Linked DNA regions of Homo sapiens: regions 1, 2, 3 and 4 are each linked to region 5. Evidence: promoter capture Hi-C in 16 types of primary human blood cells and fetal thymus (Javierre and others, 2016). All regions are on one chromosome and are shown on one strand. Each heading gives the region's core, a stretch centred on a gene start or on the middle of the fragment in contact. The rest is flanking DNA. Distances are from core to core; before and after follow the strand shown.

Region 1 (3,520 bases), core at 337-2,836, 440 kb before region 5:
GCACTCCAGCCTGGGTGACCGAGCAAGATTCTGTCTCAAAAAATAAATAAATAAATAAATAAATAAATAAATAAATAAATAAATAAAAAATATATGTAAATAGGCTGTGCACGGTAGCTCATGCCTGCAATCCCAACACTTTGGGAGGCCAAGGTAGGTGGATTGCCCGAGCAACGGAGTTCAAGACCACGAACATGGTGGTAACATGGTGAAACCCTGTCTCTAGTAAAATAAAAAATTAGCTGGGCGTGGTGGCGCACACCTGTAGTCCCAGCTAATCGGGGTAGGCTGAGGCACGAGACTCACTTGAACCCGGGAGGCGGAGGTTGCAGTGAGCCGAGATCGCACCACTGCACTCCAGCTTGGGTTACAGAGTGAGACTCCATCTCAAAAAATAAATAAAAATATAAAAATTAAAAAATTAAAAATATATATGTAAATAATATATAGAGATTATATGTAATTATATATAATTATAATTTTAAAATTTCATCTATATATAATGCGGGTAAGAACACTGGTTTTGGAGCCGAAATGGTTTAAATTCCAGTTCTGCACTTGTTTTGGACCTTAGGAAGTTACAAATATTTGTAAGCTGCAGTTAAAGCAAAGATAATATAACCTACTGCAAAGGGTGTTAGGAGATTTAAATGAAAACATAAATGCTTTAGCACACAGCACGGTATCTGACATGCAGTAAAGACTTGGGGTATATATTGTTAAAGTTAACAAAGCTGGGTGAGAATTTAGAGACTAATAAATATTGCCTTATTTTTTTAACCAATCTGAGGACCAGCCGCTGTACTCATAGAACCCCTGGTCTATAGAGCATTGGAGAACAGATTCATTTGAATTTTTTTTTTTTTTTTTGAGACTGAGTTTCACTCTACTTGCCCAGGCTGGAGTGCAATGGCACAACCTTGGCTAACTGCAACCTCTGCCTCCCGGGTTCAAGCGATTCTGCTGCCTCATCCTCCCAAGTAGCTGGGATTACAGGCTCCCACCACCACGCCTGGCAATTTTTTTGTATTTTTAGTAGAGACGGGTTTCACCATGTTGGCCAGGCTGGTCTCGAACTTCTGACCTCAGGTGATCCACCGGCCTCAGCCTCCCAAAGTGCTGGGATTACAAGCGTGAGCCACCATGCCCGGCCTGACAAGTGACTATTTTCACTGCTTACCACCAGGAAAGAGTGTTGGCTCTAATTAGCGCCATCAATGGAAGATCTACGTGGAAAACACTCTTTCCAAGGGTGGACAGAAAGCTTTTTAGTTCCTAAACTTTTTTCAGCCTTTGACTTGAACGGGTAATTGCTAAGTGACCAAATTGAAATAGCCATTCTTTACTTACAGAGTTCCAAATGGATTTACAGGTAGTGTTAGAGGAGATACATGAAGTATTCCTTTTCTTTTTTTTTTTTTTTTTGAGTTTCACTCTTGCCCCCCAGGCTGGAGTGCAATGGCACGATCTTGGCTCACTGCAGCCCCACCTCCTGGGCTCAAGCAATTCTCCTGCCTCAGCATCCCGAGTAGTTGGGATTACAGGCATGTGCCACCACACCCAGCTAATTTTGTATTTTTAGTAGAGACGGTTTCACTATGTTGGCCAGGCTGGTCTCGAACTCCTGACGTCAAGTGATCTGCCCGCCTCGGCCTTCCAAAGTGCTAGGATTACAGGGATGAGCCACTGTGCCCAGCCAAATTTCTTGAGTTTTACTGAAATTTAGATACTCTAGCTACTGTGCAAAGAGGGAAAAGCCTGAAGTTCCTATAACTGATAGCATGTTTTACATAATTTCATATTGAATCTCACTCACTGGCGGTACCACTTTTAATTTTGCATGAAGATGCTTGAGAGTACATTAATAAATGTTCTATAAGGCAGCTGATAAGCATAGTGAAAGCTTTTTGGCTGCTAAGCTTCAACCTGTGCCATTATATTTTTTCTGAGGCTACAACCATTTGTTTTATATTTCACATATTTGCATATTAGAGAGGTTCAGTGATAAATATGGAAGAGAAGCTGAAAATTCTTGACGAGATAAATTTGATTTTTTTTTTCTTGAGATGGGGTCTTGCTATATTGGCCAGGCTGTAGTGCAACGGCTACTCACAGGTGAGATCACAGCACACCACAGCCTCAAACTCCTGGGCTCAGGCAATCCTCCTGCCTCAGCCTCTCGAGTAGCTGAGACTGCAGGTACATGCCAGCATGCCAGGTTCATGGTGGGAATTTTTGAACAACTCTTAATAGTGTTAAATTACTGTCTGATTGCTCTTTGTTCATTGGATTTGCTTCTAAAATGCAGTACAGGCCGGGCGTGGTGGCTCACACCTGTAATCCCAACACTTTGGGAGGCCGAGGTGGGCAGATCACTTGAGGTCAGGAGTTCGGGCCCAGCCTGGCCAGTATGGTGAAGCCCTGTCTCTACTAAAAATACACAAATTAGCTGGGCATGGTGGCAGGTGCCTGTAATCCCAGCTACTCGGGAGGCTGAGGCAGGAGAATCACTTGAACCCAGGAGGCAGAGGTTGCAGGGAGCCGAGATTGCACAACTGCACTCCAGCCTGGGCAACAGAGCAAGACTCTGTCTCAAAAAATAAATAAAAAATAAAATAAAATAAAATAAATGCAGTGCAGGCTTGTAAGGTCAACTTGAATTTGGGTATCTATAGTGGGGAGACAGCCATTCTCCATGCCGTCAGACCAAGCACTTCTCTGTATTTCTGTGCCTTGTGGATCTGAAGCTTTTGTCATTTTGGGGAAGGCAACATGATTCCTTGGCTAGAAATCTGGGTAGTGTAACTTTTGGGATAAGATGCTATGTCAGACCTTGTTCTTACTTGTCATCAGACTTTTGGCAGGTTATTTTAAATCTTCCAGAACCTTTATTTTGTAAACTATGAGATAGTAAGAAGCCTACCTTAAGGGTTTTTGTGAATATGTGAATATTAATTAATTTGTATATAAACATCTAATTCTATGGTTACTATATATTAGGATGACCCATATAGCATTGCCATTTTCAAGTCCGAAAATGTTGGGATCTGCAATTCCATATGGTTCAAACAAACAGCAAGCCCTCAATAAATGGTAGCTATTATCTTAACAGAAATACTCACTTGCTTAGTGACCTTGTACTTTAAATATACAGTATATGGTTTATTCTCATTTCCCAAGTAGTTTGACACTTTGTTATAGCATGGCTTATTCTTGCACAGATTTGCATAAACCATACATCAAGTCATAGAATTCACTTACAAATTATTGTGTGGTTATAACATACCTAAACATTTTCAGAATGGAATTAATTTTCTTGATTGCCTTATGTGACAGTAAAAGTCTGTTCTTCCACTAGTCTCTCCCTCTAAGTGAATGGCACTCCATTCACTCCACTACTCAAAAGAGAAACCTGAGGGATCTGTTTCCTCCCTTCTCTTTATTCCCCAAATGTAACCCATCAGCAGTGCTTATTGGCAATTTCTTCAAGATATATTCCTGATCTACTGACTTCTCATAA
Region 2 (3,635 bases), core at 706-3,205, 360 kb before region 5:
GATCTAGGAAAGGAAGACAGTCATTGGGACTTTTGCTAACTTTGTCCCTAGAGAGTGAATTCTGCTTTTGCTGGTCCTAAAAACTGTAGAGTAATTCTACAATCCAGTTAAATTTGTAAATCTAATGCCTGATTCAGTCTGAGATTTATGACTCAGCCGGTTGATCCAGCTTAGGTCTAGACTCATTTCACTTTTGTTATGACAAGATACGACAATGTAGGGCACACCCTTTACCCCCCAGGGTCATCCTGATGTCAGTCATTTCAGGCTAGGCCAGTGTCAGAGCAGTCCCTGAAGCAGAAGTGGATGGAAAGAGGTGAATGATTTCTAATATTCAACATTCATTAATTTAACATCAACTATGTTAAGGGTAATGATATAGCAGTTAACCAAGACCAACATGGTGTCTGCTTGGTTGATGCTTGAAATAAGGTGACCTGGCCCCAGCCACCCGGGTGGCCAGGAGCTGAAAGGGCTGTAACAAGTAGGCAGTGAATAGTCTTCAAACTTGTTACTTGCATACCTCCCTACAAATTTTGGAAAAACCATGAGACTCTGATTGATTTTTTAAAAGAATATCTAAAATCATTATGTTTAAATAGCCTCAAAAGAAGCATTTTATTATGTATTGTAAATATTGGCATTTTAAAATGTTATTCGGTCTTTTAAATGTATCCAGTGAAATGTTGGTACAATAGAGTTTTGATAGCTACCATTTTCCATTTTTAAAAATACTTTAACACGCTTTGTAACAGTTGGAAATATTGTTTGATTCCTTTTGCTCCCTGAACTCCATTCTTCTTCTTCTGAAGAATTTTATCCTAAAATGAATTTATTTTTTGCTTAACAGTCTTATTGGTTACCTTATTAAATATTACTCAGTATATTATAGATGTAAGTGTTTTTTGTGTTACCATAGGCTCTAAGAGTTTAATGACCAAATGACATTTTAATAAATATTAAACTTAAAAAATTACATTTGGCTGGGTGCGGTGGCTCACGCCTGTAATCCCAGCACTTTGAGAGGCCGAGGTGGTGGATCACTTGAGGTCAGGAGTTCAAGACCAGCCTGGCCAACATGGTAAAACCGGTCTCTACTAAAAATACAAAAAATTACCCGGGCATGGTGGTGGGCGCATGTAATCCCAGCTACTCGAGAGGCTAAGGAAGGAGAATCGCTTGAACCTGGGAGGCAGAGGTTGCAGTGAGATGAGATCACACTCCTGCACTCCAGCCTGGGTGACAGAGCGAGACTCTGTCTCAAAAGACAAAAAAAAAAAAAGTTATATTTAATTTGAAATACATTGAAATTTGAATAGGTATAATATTACAGTGATTTGGTTAAAGAAATTGTCTAAATGTTCTTTTGTTTGTTGGACAGATATTTTTACACCCTATGATAATAATACCCCATGTTAAAAACTGGGAAGGATTTGCAATTTTACCGTATTTGCTAGCTAACAACTTTCCCTGACATAGTTTCACAGATGTGGACAGAAGACACAAGACAGTTATTCTAGTAATAGCAGGGGCTGGATAACATCATTTTTGCATTTTTGATTTCTTAAGCTTCAGTTCTATCAGGGCCAATGTGGATGGGCCCAGATGGATGCCTGCTCACATGCATGTGAGAATTCTGATCTTTGGAAACCCAATTTTTTTTTTTTTTGAGACAGAGTCTCACTCTGTCGCCCAGGCTGGAGTGCAGTGGCGTGATCTCGGCTCACTGCAAGCTCCGCCTCCCGGGTTCATGCCATTCTCCTGCCTCAGCCTCACGAGTAGCTGGGACTACAGGTGCCTGCCACCATGCTCGGCTAATTTTTTTGTATTTTTAGTAGAGACGGGGTTTCACCGTGTTAGCCAGGATGGTCTTGATATCCTGACCTCGTGATCCGCCCGCCTCGGCCTCCCAAAGTGCTAGAATTACAGGTGTGAGCCACCGTGCCCGTCCCCCAATCTTTTATAATGGTTTGTAAGCATGCCTTCCCTTTGCTCCAGAGGGAGACATTCCTATTCCAGCCAGTAAGTGTGTTGGTTTCCTAGAGCTCCCATAACAAAATACCAAAAATTGGATGGTTTAAAGCAACAGAAATGTATTGTCTCTCAGTTCTGCAGGCTAGAAGTCTGACATGGTGATGGCAGAGCCATCTTCCCACTGAAACCTGTAGAGATAGTGCAGAACTAAGGGCAGTTGATGCCTTACTCTCAAGACCTGCAGAACATGAAAAAACCCATGGAAAATGGTCTCCTAATACGCTATGGTAAACGTATGGGTGAGAGGTAAGTTTATTTTTTGGTAAGAGAAAGGCAGTTATTAAAGGAGAAGGTAGAAAAAGCTTAGTTTACTAAAAGCACTTTCACAGGTTCTTAGGAGAGAGTTCATATGGAAGTTGAGGAATCTGAAATTGATTTCCTAAAAATTGATTTTCTTAAAATGATCTCTATTCTCATATCTTTTGAATAATATTTCCATATCTCAGTAGAATCCCAGCTTGAAGGGACATGAGGTACATCTGAACTGCTGTTCTCTGGGAATCACCACATACAGTACAGCTTTGAGATATTGATGCCATAATGCCCCCTTCTATTTTCCTGAACTTTCCAAGAAGTTTTTGCTAAAAGTTGTGGATGGGCTGAGCAATGTGATCAAAGAATTAAAAGAGGGTTTTCTGCCTTCTTTTAGGGGAGGGCAGCAGTAGCAGGAGGAAGGTTGAGTCCAGGAATTGCCAAAGGTGGTATGCCACAGAGCCCCTGTCAGCCTGTGTACAGGGAATGTGGTCAGGAGGCAGATGAGTGGCGGAGGCAGCAGACAACTGGATTGGAGTCCTGATTTCCAGAAATAGTAAGCAGAGGAATTTGTCAAGAGCCTGGAATTCCTGTAATTAAGCAGAATGGGGAGTTGACATTTTCCTAATGGATATTAGCAAATAAATGTGACCTCATTTTAAGCTCCCATTGGCCAAGGCCTGGACATTCCAGTTAAAGTTTTTGACCAAATTATATACGGCTAAGTTGATGTGGAATCATTCAGTTCCACAGTAAACCATTTATACAGACAAAGTGACTTATTTGCATATTTTTTCCTACTATGTTTTTTAATAACAAGGCCAGTTTTTGTGAATGTAACTATCTAGTCTAGCAAGTATAGTTGTCCTTGGAAAGCTTGAGAAAGTGCTTCTTATAGTATTTATTAAATGTCATTTTTAGTTTGAAAACCAACACAGATCTCCAGGAGCAATAATGTTTTATGTTATTAAAGTTGAGCCCCTATAGTCTTGCTTGATTTTAAAAGGATGGATGAATGACATTGAGGAGAGGAAGATAAGTTTTTTGTCTCTGTCCTCAGGGAATTAACTTCCAAGGAAGGGGGACCACCAGCACCTGAAGAGATATCTAGCTTTAAAAAAAAATCGTATAGATTTATCAAACTTTACAGGTGGGAATTGTAACAATATTGAAAAAATGTCAACTACTTAACAGCTGGTAAGAAAATTCTTAGGGAAAGTATTAAATGTTTAGAGAAAATACTTTGAGGAGATACTTGGAGTAGGATTGGCCTTATTACCTGCAAGGCTTTCATTTTTCCTTCCCTGGAGAAAGAATATGGTTCAGGGGGAAGAGATGGCTGGGTGTGA
Region 3 (3,507 bases), core at 635-3,134, 460 kb before region 5:
GGTCTCGAACTCCTGACCTCAGGCAATCCACCCGCCTCGGCCTCCCAAAGTGCTAGGATTATAGGCATGAGCCACCGCACCCGGGCTCTTTTTTCTTTTTTTGAGACAGAGTTTTGCTCTGTCGCCAGGGCTGGAGTGCAATGGTGCGATCTTGGCTGACTGTAATCTCCGCCCCCTGGGTTCAAGCAATTCTTGTGCCTCAGCCTCCTGAATAGCTGGGATTACAGGCATGCACCACCACACCCTGCTAATTTTGTATTTTTAGTAGAGACGGGGTTTCACCATGTTAGTCAGGCTGGTCTTGAACTCCTGTCCTCAGGTGATCCACCCCCCGTCGGCCTCCCAAAGTGCTGGGATTACAAGTATGAGCCACCGTGCCCAGCCAAAATTGTATTAGTTTTCTATTGCCATATAACAAATTATCACAAACTTAGTGGCTTAAAACAACATGTATTTCTTATCTCACAGTGTCAGTGGATCAGAAATCTGGGCACAGCTTAACTGGATCCTTTGCCCAGGGTCTCACGAGGTTTCAGTTGAGGTGTTGGCCAGGCCATAGTCTCATCTGAGGCTTGGGACTCTTCCTAGCTCATTTGGGTGATTGCTGGCAGACTAAATTTCCTTACAGCTGTGGGACTCAGGTGGCTTGTTTCTTTGCAGGAGAGTATCTCTTTTTCGGGGCTCACCTGATTAGAGCAAGCCTACTCTGGATAATCTTCTTTTGATTAACTCAACAGTCAGCCAATTAGGGCCTTTATTATATTCTCAGAATCCCTTCATCTTTCCCATTTCATGTAACATAATCACAAGAGTGACAGACAAACATATTCAGAGCTATTGCCCATACTTAAGGGGAAGGAATTTGATAGGGTTTGTACCAGCAGGCTGGGAATTTTGGAAGCCACGTTAGATTTCTGCCCACCACAATAACATGGACTGACTTAGGAGACTATCGATGTGGCCTTCAAAGTCTGTATTTTTAAAGATATTGTAGTACATTCAAAATTCATACATTAGAAATAATAACAACCTAAACAATAAAGTATTAAACTGTTGGGACTGTTTTTAAGGCTGTGATGTCAATCCTCTAAGTTATCTCTATTTTCAGGATGAAACTACCATTTTGATTAAAATTTCTTCTATCTATTATTGTCCTAGTGGATTTTAAATTGAATTAGCAGAAGGGGTGGATTTCAAATTAAATTCCATTTGGGTAAATAAAAAAGCGGTTAATCATTTCAGCATTTTCCTCTTTATTGTTTTCATGAGTGGAGATTTCATTAGTTCAACATACTTTGCTGTAACTTTCTTGAAATGTGCCATATTTTTTCATATCCTAGTATTGTTAGGGTTGAATTCATATGTTATCATAGCAAGTGACCCATAATTTGAGAGTTCTTTTTCTTTGCTTTGGATGTATGATACTTTGAAAATAAGCTGTTACTGAAAATAAAGGACTATAATTAAATATAACAGTGAATGGAATGCCAGTTCAAACAATATCAAGAAACACTTCTAAAGGGAGTGTTCTGTTGATTTTAAAAGGGTCTTCTCAAAGTAAGATTGGCCATTTTAAATAGCCTGAATAAAACATTATTAAATACCCTGTAGGGTATATCCTGCTTTTGTGAGAAATGTACTAACTGACATGATTCTTCTTTCCAAATATAAGAACTAGACTTGCTTTTTGACTTGGAGAAAGGAAGAGCATTGTATTTTTACTAGAGTGTAGGTTAATCATGAGCTTCTAATCATGGTGATGATTTAAATGATTCTAAGAAGATTAGAAAGCCTCAGATCCTACTAAACAAGGGTATTTATACTCACCCTCCTTTTTTCCATTATGAAAGGAATGCTTATGGTTATGGAGAACTTTTGTATAGTACTATCTTTGAATTATTTTACTACTCCTACCCCTCAAATCTACTCTGACATTGTCTTCAATTAGGCAACTGAGTTTTTAGCAGTCTGCCTTCAGCTGCTTTTCAACCATACAGGGGTTATACTACCCAATAGGAGGAGATAGCGTTATTAACCCAGCTCATCAGGATGCACATGTAACATTTAAGTGAGTTATCAATGGACGGTACCCCACATTGGAAAGTAAAATAACTGAGGTTTTTTGGGATCAAATAAGCATTTTACAAAATGGTGGAGTTGGGTGTGGAGGCTCATGCCTGTCATCCAAGCACTTTGAGAGGCTGAGGTGGGCAGATTGCTTTAGGCCAGGGGTTCAAGTCCAGCCTGGGCAACAAAGCAAGACCCCATCTTTATGTTTAAAAATTTTTATATTTAAAAAAAAGAAATGCTGTACATTATTAACAGAAACCAAGAAAAGGAAGCAAACTTACTGTCCAGCAATGGGTGAATGGATAAAGAAAATGTGGTACATATACACAATGGAATATTATTCAGCCATAAAAATGAAGTCTTGTTATTTGTGACAACATGGATGAAACTGGAGGATATTAGGCTAAGTGAAATAAGCCAGGCACAGAAAGACAAATACGAGTTTGACTTTTGAGTTCATGCATGATCTCACTTATATATGGAATCTAAAAAAGCCAAACTCATAAAAACAGAGAGTGTAGAATGGTGGTTGTCAGAGGCTTAGGGGCGGGGTGGAATTGGGAGATGTTGGTCAAAGGGTACAAAACTTCAGTTAGACAGGAGGAAGAAGTTCCAGAGATCAATCATACAAATATGGTGACCATAGTTAATAGCAATGTCCTGTATACTTGAAAATTGCTGACAATAGATTTTGTGTTCTCACTATATAAAAATAAGCATGTGAGGTGATGCATACGTCAATTCGCTTGATTTATAAAATATGTACACATTCTACAGTATATACATATTTCAAAACATCATGTTGTATACCATAAATATATACAATTTTTATTATCAATTAAAAAAAGTAAAAACTGAAAGTGGTCGCTCAAGCCTGTAATCTCAGCTACTTGGCTGAGGCAGGGGATCACTTGAGTCCAGTAGTTCAAGACCAGCCCGGGCAACATCATGAGATCCTGTGCCAAAAATAACCCAAGCAAACAAACCTAAAAAAAGAAAAAAGAAGAGCTGCATACTGTTGCTTTGTCCCAGAGATACACTGTGCATATTAGCATATAAAGCCTCTGAGAAGTCCTGTAGTAAACACATCTGATGAACTTGGTTTAACCAAGTATTTCCCCTATCTCCTTTGACCACAGAATCTATTTTAACTATAATATTGTCTGGAATTAGCAATCCATAAAAAGTCCTTTGGAAAATAATGCTATAATTGAAATTACCCAAATCTCCCTTAAATCCAGATTTTCTAGTCTTTCTAAGCTATGTGGACTTCTAGAACTACACTCGCTCTGAGCCAGAAGACCAAGAAGTTATATTTTCATTTAAATTTTTTATCTCTAGTTATTCATTTGCGTGTCCAAGGATCCAAAACTTCAGTCAAGGATGGTCTGCAATGCTTCATTCTTTTAAACATAATTATATCCAGTGTTTGAAACT
Region 4 (3,767 bases), core at 46-2,545, 480 kb before region 5:
CAGAACATATCAGGCTACCATCTGGATAAGGTGGGCACTGGGAAAATGAATCCAGATGTAGATGCTCATGGAAAAGGCACAGTGCCCAAAGGTGAGAGTGATCTCTACATAAGAGTGAGCAAAATGAAATATCAGGATATTTTAGCATGTGGGTGAATTACAACTGGATGTCTGCACAAACATTTGGCACCAGGAAGATCTGCTTGTTTAGGGTGTGGGAACAGGGTTTTATGGAATGTGAGGACATAAAGATTGTCAAGAGTAAAGCCAGCAGTTAGGAGAGGACTGGGAAAGGACTTAGGACAGTGCTCAAAGGGGAAGTCCACCCAGATACACTGGACACAATCAGGGACTGGATTTAAAGTGCATGTCTAGGTAGGAGAACTGAAGTACCACTTAAGGGTTAGATTAAGAAGGATGTTGATGTGTATTCCTAATGGGATCAGCACCAGTGTTAGTCTGGAGGTCATTTAAGCATCTTCAGTTTAAAAACAGGCCTGATACCTGTGGCCTAGGCTGTGGAACAAAAAAAGAATGGAGAGAAAGAGAGTAAGGTTAGGATTCACAGACCTGACCCGCCACTTCATCTTCTCTCTCACCTCTGTCCTCTACAAGATCGAGCCATGTAGGATAACTTGGATACTTGTTCTCCTTAGCTCTCCTTTCTCCCTGCTGCTTGCTTTCTCTAGAATACTCTTCTTCTAATTTCTCTTGTTAAAAATCATACCCATTCATCAAGGCTCAGCTCAAATGCCATTTTCTGCCTTTCCTGTCATGCCTAATGGGGAACTTTAGTACCTTCCTCCTTTTGATCTTCTCTGTCAATTCCATGCCATAGAACTTTCTTTGAAGTTTTATAATCTGCATTGTTCAATACAGCAGACACTAGCCACATGTGGCTATTAAGCACTTGAATGTGACTAGTGACTAAAAAAGTAAAACGTTAATTTTATTAAATTTACATTAATTTAAATAGACACTTGTGGGCAGTAGCTACCGAGTTGAACAATGTAGTTCTATGACATCTTTCATAGCACTTCCTCTTTAACAATTAACAGACAGTTTTCATGCCTAATCTGTGTGAGGCTTGGTGATAGGTATTAGAAATATAGCATGATTATGATACAGTTTCTACCATCGAGAATTAGCACAGATATCCTCCCTTTTACTATAGTGATTGGCACATTTTTCTTATTTATCTTAATATGCTAAAAGCTTCTTTAGGACAAGTATATGTCTTACTTATCTTTGTATTCTCCCTCAGGCCAAAACACAATGCATGCATATTCCAGGTGCTGTAAGTTATTCATACTGAATTGCAAATCTGTTCTCTTGTGAAATATTAACCTAATCCAATGTCTAAAAATGAAGCTTTCATGATCTGTTTTATACTTGAAAACACTGCAGCCATTATTTAATATAATATTCTTACCTGGGCTAAAACAAATCTTCTAATTCAGTTATCAAAAATGAAAGGCCAAAGTGAATGGAGAAGGAAATAATTCAGATAGGAAAAGGGGAAGTCAAATTGTCTCTGTTCACAGATGACATGATTGTATATTTAGAAAACCTCACCGTCTCAGCCCAAATCTCCTTAAGCTTATCAAAGCAACTTCAGCAAAGTCTCAGGATACGAAATCAATGCACAAAAATCACAAGCATTCCTATACACCAATAACAGACAAACAGAGAGCCAAATCATGAGTGAACTCCCATTCACAATTGCTACTAAGAGAATAAAATACCTAGGAATACAACTTACAAGGAATGTGAAGGACCTCTTCAAGGAGAACTACAAACCACTGCTCAAGGAAATAAGGGAGGACACAAACAAATGGAAAAACATTTCATGCTCATGGATAGGAAGAATCAATATCGTGAAAATGGCCATAACTGCCCAAAGTAATTTATAGATTCAATGCTATCCCCATCAAGCTACCTATTGACTTTCTCCACAGAATTGGAAAGAACTGCTTTAAAGTTCATATGGAACCAAAAAAGAGCCCGCATAGCCAAGACAATCCTAAGCATAAAGAACAAAGCTGGAGGCATCACACTACCTGACTTCAAACTATACTACAAGGCTACAGTAACCAAAAGAGCATGGTACTGGTACCAAAACAGACATATAGACCAATGGAACAGAACAGAGCCCTCAGAAATAACACCACACATCTACAACCATCTGATCTTTGACAAACCTGACACAAACAAGCAATGGGGAAAGGATTCCCTATTTAATAAATGGTGCTGGGAAAACTGGCTAGCCATATGCAGAAAACTGAAACTGGACCCCTTCCTTACACCTTATACAAAAATTAACTCAAGGTGGATTAAAGACTTAAACATAAGACCTAAAACCATAAAAGTCCTAGAAGAAAACCTAGGCAATACCATTCAGGACACAGGCATGGGCAAAGACTTCATATCTAAAACATCAAAAGCAATGGCAACAAAAGCCAAAATTGACAAATGGGATCTAATTAAACTAAAGAGCTTCTGCACAGCAAAAGAAACTATCATCAGAGTGAACAGACAACCTACAGAACGAGAGAAAATTTTTGCAATCTATCCATCTGACAAAGGGCTAATATCCAGAATCTACAAAGGACGTAAACAAATTTACAAGCAAAAAACAACCCCATCAAAAAGTGGGCAAAGGATATGAACAGACACTTCTCAAAAGAAGACATTTATGCAGCCAACAAACATGAAAAAAAGCTCATCATCACTGGTCATTAGAGAAATGCAAATCAAAACCACAATGAGATACCATCTCATGCCAGTTAGAATGGTGATCATTAAAAAGTCAGGAAACAACAGATGCTGGAGAGGATGTGGAGAAATAGGAATGCTTTTACACTGTTGGTGGGAGTGTAAATTAGTTCAACCATTGTGGAAGGCAGTGTGGCGATTCCACAAGGACCTAGAACTAGAAATACCATTTAACTCAGCAATCCCATTAGTGGGTATATACCCAAAGGATTATAAATCACGTTGCTATAAAGACACATGCACATGTATGTTTATTGCAGCACTATTCACAATAGCAAAGACTTGGAACCAACCCAAATGTCCATCAGTGATAGACTGGATTAAGAAAATGTGGCACATATACACCATGGAATACTATGCAGCCATAAAAAGATGAGTTCATGTCCTTTGCAGGGACATGGATGAAGCTGGAAACCATCATTCTCAGCAAACTAACACAAGAACAGAAAACCAAACATGTTCTGCATGTTCTCATTCATAAGTGGGAGTTGAACAATGAGAACACATGGACACAGGGAGGGGAACATCACACATTGGGGCCTGTCGGCGGACGGGGGAATAGGGGAGGGATAGCATTAAAAGAAATACCTAATGTGGCTGACGGGTTGATGGGTGCAGCAAACCACCATGGCATGTGTATAACAAAACTGCACATTCTGCACATGTACCCCAGAAATTAAAGTATAATAAAAAAAAGAAAAAAAAGTAAATGGGTAGTCTCTCTATTTGTGGTCTCTCTACACTTCAGTGGAGTCCCCCTTGGCCCTATCCCCAACCATGCTATCAAACCCAGTAGCCTTATGTTCTTCTGTCTAATCCACAGCCAAAATCTATCCTCAGATTTATTTTCACAAAATTAGCATATATGACTAATAAAAGTCAACATCCTTTAAGATTTTTTTATTTAAATTGTTATCATAGCCTTAAGCTAAAGCAGTGGTTTTTCAACTTTATGCTATATTTCTTGGAAAACATACGTTCTGTGAAGCTCC
Region 5 (3,706 bases), core at 163-2,662:
TGCATTAAGATGTTTCTGAGGACTGCGAACTCCCGCAGCATAGTTATAATGTGGAGTGGCAGCAGCAGCAGCTGCAGGACGTGGACCCATTGTCTGTGTCGATGTGTTAGCAACACGCTGTGTTGACATAACTCATGGAACCTGTGAAGAAGCTGGTCTCATAGTACTAAATGGTGGTCTAGGAGCAGCCGGGCGGATAGCACTGGGCCTATTTTGGAATGGATGGGGTCTGGCACCCTCAGCAGTCCAGCGAGGACTTGGTCTTAGTTGAGCAATTTGGCTAGGAGGATAGTATGCAGCACCGTTCTGAGTCTGTGGGATAGCTGCCATGAAGTAACCTGAAGGAGGTGCTGGCTGGTAGGGGTTGATTTCAAGATTGGGCACAGCTCGTACACTTGCCATTCTTTGCATATACTGGTTAGTGAGGTGAGCCTGGCACTCTTCTTTGCGCTGAGCTAAAGCAACATACAATGGCTTTGTGGCCACAATTCTACCATTCATTTCTGTAACTGCTTTAGTGGCTTCTTCTGGTGAGGAGAAACATACAAAACCAAACCCTTTGCAGCGACCACCCTCCATCATAACCTTTGCACTGGTGATTGTACCAAATGGAGAAAACTCTTTCCGGAGACGTTAATTATTAATGCCATCATCAAGATTTTTCACATAAAGATTAACACGGTGGTATCTGGTGATCCTATCTTGCCTCACCTGTTCAAATTTGCGCTTAAGTTCTGTCTGCCGTTCCACTTTTTTCTGAGCTCTACCTACATAAATTTGTTTTCCATTGAGCTCCTTTCATTTCATCCACAGCTTTCTGTGCATCTTCAAGCCTTTCAAAGCTTACAAATCCAAATCCTTTAGATTTTCCACTTTCACCAGTCATTACTTTCACATTTAAGGCAGGCCCAAACTTGCCAAAGAGATTCTTAAGGCGCTCATCATCCATGTCTTCTCCGAAATTCTTGATGTAAACATTGGTGAACTCTTTCACGTAGCTCCAAGTTCAGCTTCTCGTTCTTTATGAGACATAAATCGTCCAACAAATACTTTGCGATCATTTAGGAGCATTCCATTCATTTTTTCCATAGCTCTTTCAGCTGCTTCCTGTGTCTCAAAGTGTACAGATCCATAGCCCTTGGAATCATTTTCATCACAGCCCACCTTACATGAAAGGATGTTACCAAAAGCAGAAAAATGTATCATACAGTGCTTTATTATCAATGGATTTGTCCAGATTTTTAATGAATATGTAGCCCACTCCACTTTTGCGAAGTGATGGATCACGCTGAGACTACACGATGCGTACTGGCTTGCCCTTTATAACATCAAAATTCATAGTGTTCACAGCATGCTCCGCGTCCGCGGGCTACTGGAAGTTCACATACGCGTAGCCCAAGGAGCCGTGGGTGATCATGTCCCTGCAGACCCGGATGGAGAGGATGAGCCCGGCCGCGCTGAACTTCTTGTAGAGCATCGCCTCGGTCACGTCGGGATGGAGGTCCCCCACGTACAGCGAGGACGTAGCTGGGGGCACTGGGGTTCATCTCGGCACTGCTGCTCGCAGGGCCACAGGCCGCGACCTTTCCGTGAGAGGAGGAGAGCGAATGCTGGGGCTAGGGGCCGGAGCTGGGGGAAGGTGAGCGGGGGCAAGCGCAAGCGCAAGCGCAGAGGGACAAAAATCACCCGGAATCGAAAACTACTTCACCGCCCCAGAATGGTGTTGATCCGCTGCCGCTGGCTGCGGGCGAAGGTGGAGGTGTCAGTCCGGACAGCGGGAAGGCCTCGGTCTCTTGGTTCCTTTTTGGAGCTGCTGCGGGCGGGCGAGTCGGCCTCGGCTGCTTCACGGGGTTACTTTATAAAAGAAGAAGAAGAAAAAAATAAAAGTCTATGGCAGGGGAGAGGCGGATTTTTTGTAAATTGTGGGAAAGTTTTTAAAATATTTTTTTAGATTTTTTTTTAATAATAAATGTATGTTCCGAGCCTGGAGCACACACTCCGCACTCTGAGCACTAACTGCCGGGAGAAGGGGCTAATTTTTGTATTTTCAGTAGAAACGGGGTTTCACCATGTTGGCCAGGCTGGTATGGAACTCCTGACCTCAGGTAATCTGTCCGCCTAGCCCTCCCAAAGTGCTGGGATTACAGGCGTGAGCCACCACGCCCGGCCAGTTTTTCTTTTTTTCTGATGTAGGCACTTGTAGCTATAAAATTCCCTCTTAGTACTGCTTTTGCTGTATCCCATAGGTTTTGGTATGTTGTGTTTCCATTATCATTTGATTCAATAAATATTTCAATTTCCTTTTTAATTACTTCATTGATCCACTGGTCGTTCAGGAGTATATTGTTTAATTTCCATATGTTTGCATAGTTTCCAAAATTCCTCTTGTTATTAATTTCTAGTTTTGTTTCATTGTGGTCAGAGAAAATGCTTGATATTATTTCAGGGTTTTTTTTAGACTGAGTCTCCCTCTGTCACCCGGGCTGGAGTGCAGTGGCGTGATCTCAACTCATTGCAACCTCTGCCTCCTGGGTTCGAGTGACTCCCTTGCCTCAGCCTCCCGAGTAGCGGGGACTACAGGTGTGTTCCACCATGCCTGGCTAGTTTTTGCATTTTTAGTAGAGATGGGGTTTCACTATGTTGGCCAGGCTGGTCTCAAACTCCTGACCTTGTGATCTGCCTGCCTCGGCCTCCCAAAGTGTTGGGTTACAGGCATGAGCCACTGCACCCGGCCCAGTTTTTTTTTTTTTTTTTTTAATGTTTTAAGACTTATTTTGTGACCTAATAGATGGTCTATTCTTGAGAATAATCTATGTGCTGAGGAAAATAATGTGTGTTCTGCAGCCATTGGATGAAATGTTCCATAAATATCTATTAGATCCGTTTGTTTTATAATGCAGATTAGGTCCAATTCATTAATTTTCTATCTGGAAGATCTGTCCAGTGCTGAAAGTGGGGTGTTGAAGTCTTCAGGTAGTATCATATTGGGAACTATCTCTCTCTTTAGCTCTAATAATATTTACTTTATATATCTGAGTGCTCCAGTGTTGGGCACATATACATTTAAAATTGTTATATCCTCTTGCTGAACTGACCCCTTTATCCTTACATAGTGACCTTCTTTGTCTCTTCTTTAGATTTGTCTTGAAATCGATTTTGTCTAAGTATAGCTACTCCTGCTCTTTTTTGGTTTTTATTGGCAGGGAGTATCTTTCTATCCCTTTATTTTCAGTCTATGTGTGTCTTTGTAGGTGAAGTGTCTTTCTTGTAAGCAACAGATCAGTGGGTCTTATTTTTTTATCCATTTAGCTACTCTATGTCTTTTGATTGGAGAGGTTAGTCCATTGAAGAATTTACATTCAATGTTATTATTGATAAGTAAGAACTTACTTTTGCAATTTTGTTAATTGTTTTCTGGCTGTTTTGTGGTCTTCTTTCTTTCTTTTCTTCCTGTTTTCCCTTAGTAAATATTATTTTCTCTGGTGATATGATTTAGTTCCTTGCTTTTTGTTTTTTGTGTATTCATGGCATGTTTTTTTCATTTGAGATTACCATGCGGCTTGCAAACGCTATCTTATAACCCATTATTTTAAGCTGATAAAAACTTATCACTGTTTGTATAAACAAACAAGCAAAAAGAAACCTAATAAAAAGTTTACACTCTAACTTCATCCCCCCTTTTTAATTTTTTGTTGTTTCTATTTAT

Evidence for each region. Contacts are between HindIII fragments. The CHiCAGO score rates a contact against its expected background, and 5 or more counts as called.
Region 1: a contact is called between a fragment that was not itself captured here and the fragment with the promoter of RXYLT1-AS1 in region 5, in 7 of 17 cell types (M2 macrophages, M0 macrophages, M1 macrophages and 4 more). The highest score is 11.7, in M2 macrophages.
Region 2: a fragment that was not itself captured here is called in contact with the fragment with the promoter of RXYLT1-AS1 in region 5 in 1 of 17 cell types (monocytes); the score reaches 5.2 in monocytes.
Region 3: a fragment that was not itself captured here is called in contact with the fragment with the promoter of RXYLT1-AS1 in region 5 in 4 of 17 cell types (M2 macrophages, monocytes, M1 macrophages and 1 more); the score reaches 9.2 in M2 macrophages.
Region 4: a contact is called between a fragment that was not itself captured here and the fragment with the promoter of RXYLT1-AS1 in region 5, in 2 of 17 cell types (M0 macrophages and M1 macrophages). The highest score is 6.9, in M0 macrophages.

What each region holds. Positions count from the first base shown.
Region 1 is chr12:64,260,646-64,264,165 of GRCh38, reverse strand. No RefSeq gene overlaps it. Among named protein-coding and RNA genes, the nearest start is that of KICS2, 40 kb to the right of the region's middle. The HindIII fragment of the contact is 639 bases long and covers 1,267-1,905 here.
Region 2 is chr12:64,183,567-64,187,201 of GRCh38, reverse strand. It overlaps a transcript of KICS2 not described here. Among named protein-coding and RNA genes, the nearest start is that of KICS2, 37 kb to the left of the region's middle. The HindIII fragment of the contact is 767 bases long and covers 1,572-2,338 here.
Region 3 is chr12:64,277,868-64,281,374 of GRCh38, reverse strand. The region is part of intron 8 of C12orf56 (chromosome 12 open reading frame 56); the gene reads left to right. Among named protein-coding and RNA genes, the nearest start is that of KICS2, 57 kb to the right of the region's middle. The HindIII fragment of the contact is 8,258 bases long and covers 1-3,507 here.
Region 4 is chr12:64,297,101-64,300,867 of GRCh38, reverse strand. The region is part of intron 6 of C12orf56 (chromosome 12 open reading frame 56); the gene reads left to right. Among named protein-coding and RNA genes, the nearest start is that of KICS2, 77 kb to the right of the region's middle. The HindIII fragment of the contact is 156 bases long and covers 1,218-1,373 here.
Region 5 is chr12:63,819,862-63,823,567 of GRCh38, reverse strand. It overlaps RXYLT1-AS1 (RXYLT1 antisense RNA 1), which reads left to right and starts at 1,412. Exons shown (of 4, transcript NR_126167.1): 1 at 1,412-1,639. It also overlaps the pseudogene PABPC1P4. The HindIII fragment of the contact is 5,765 bases long and covers 845-3,706 here.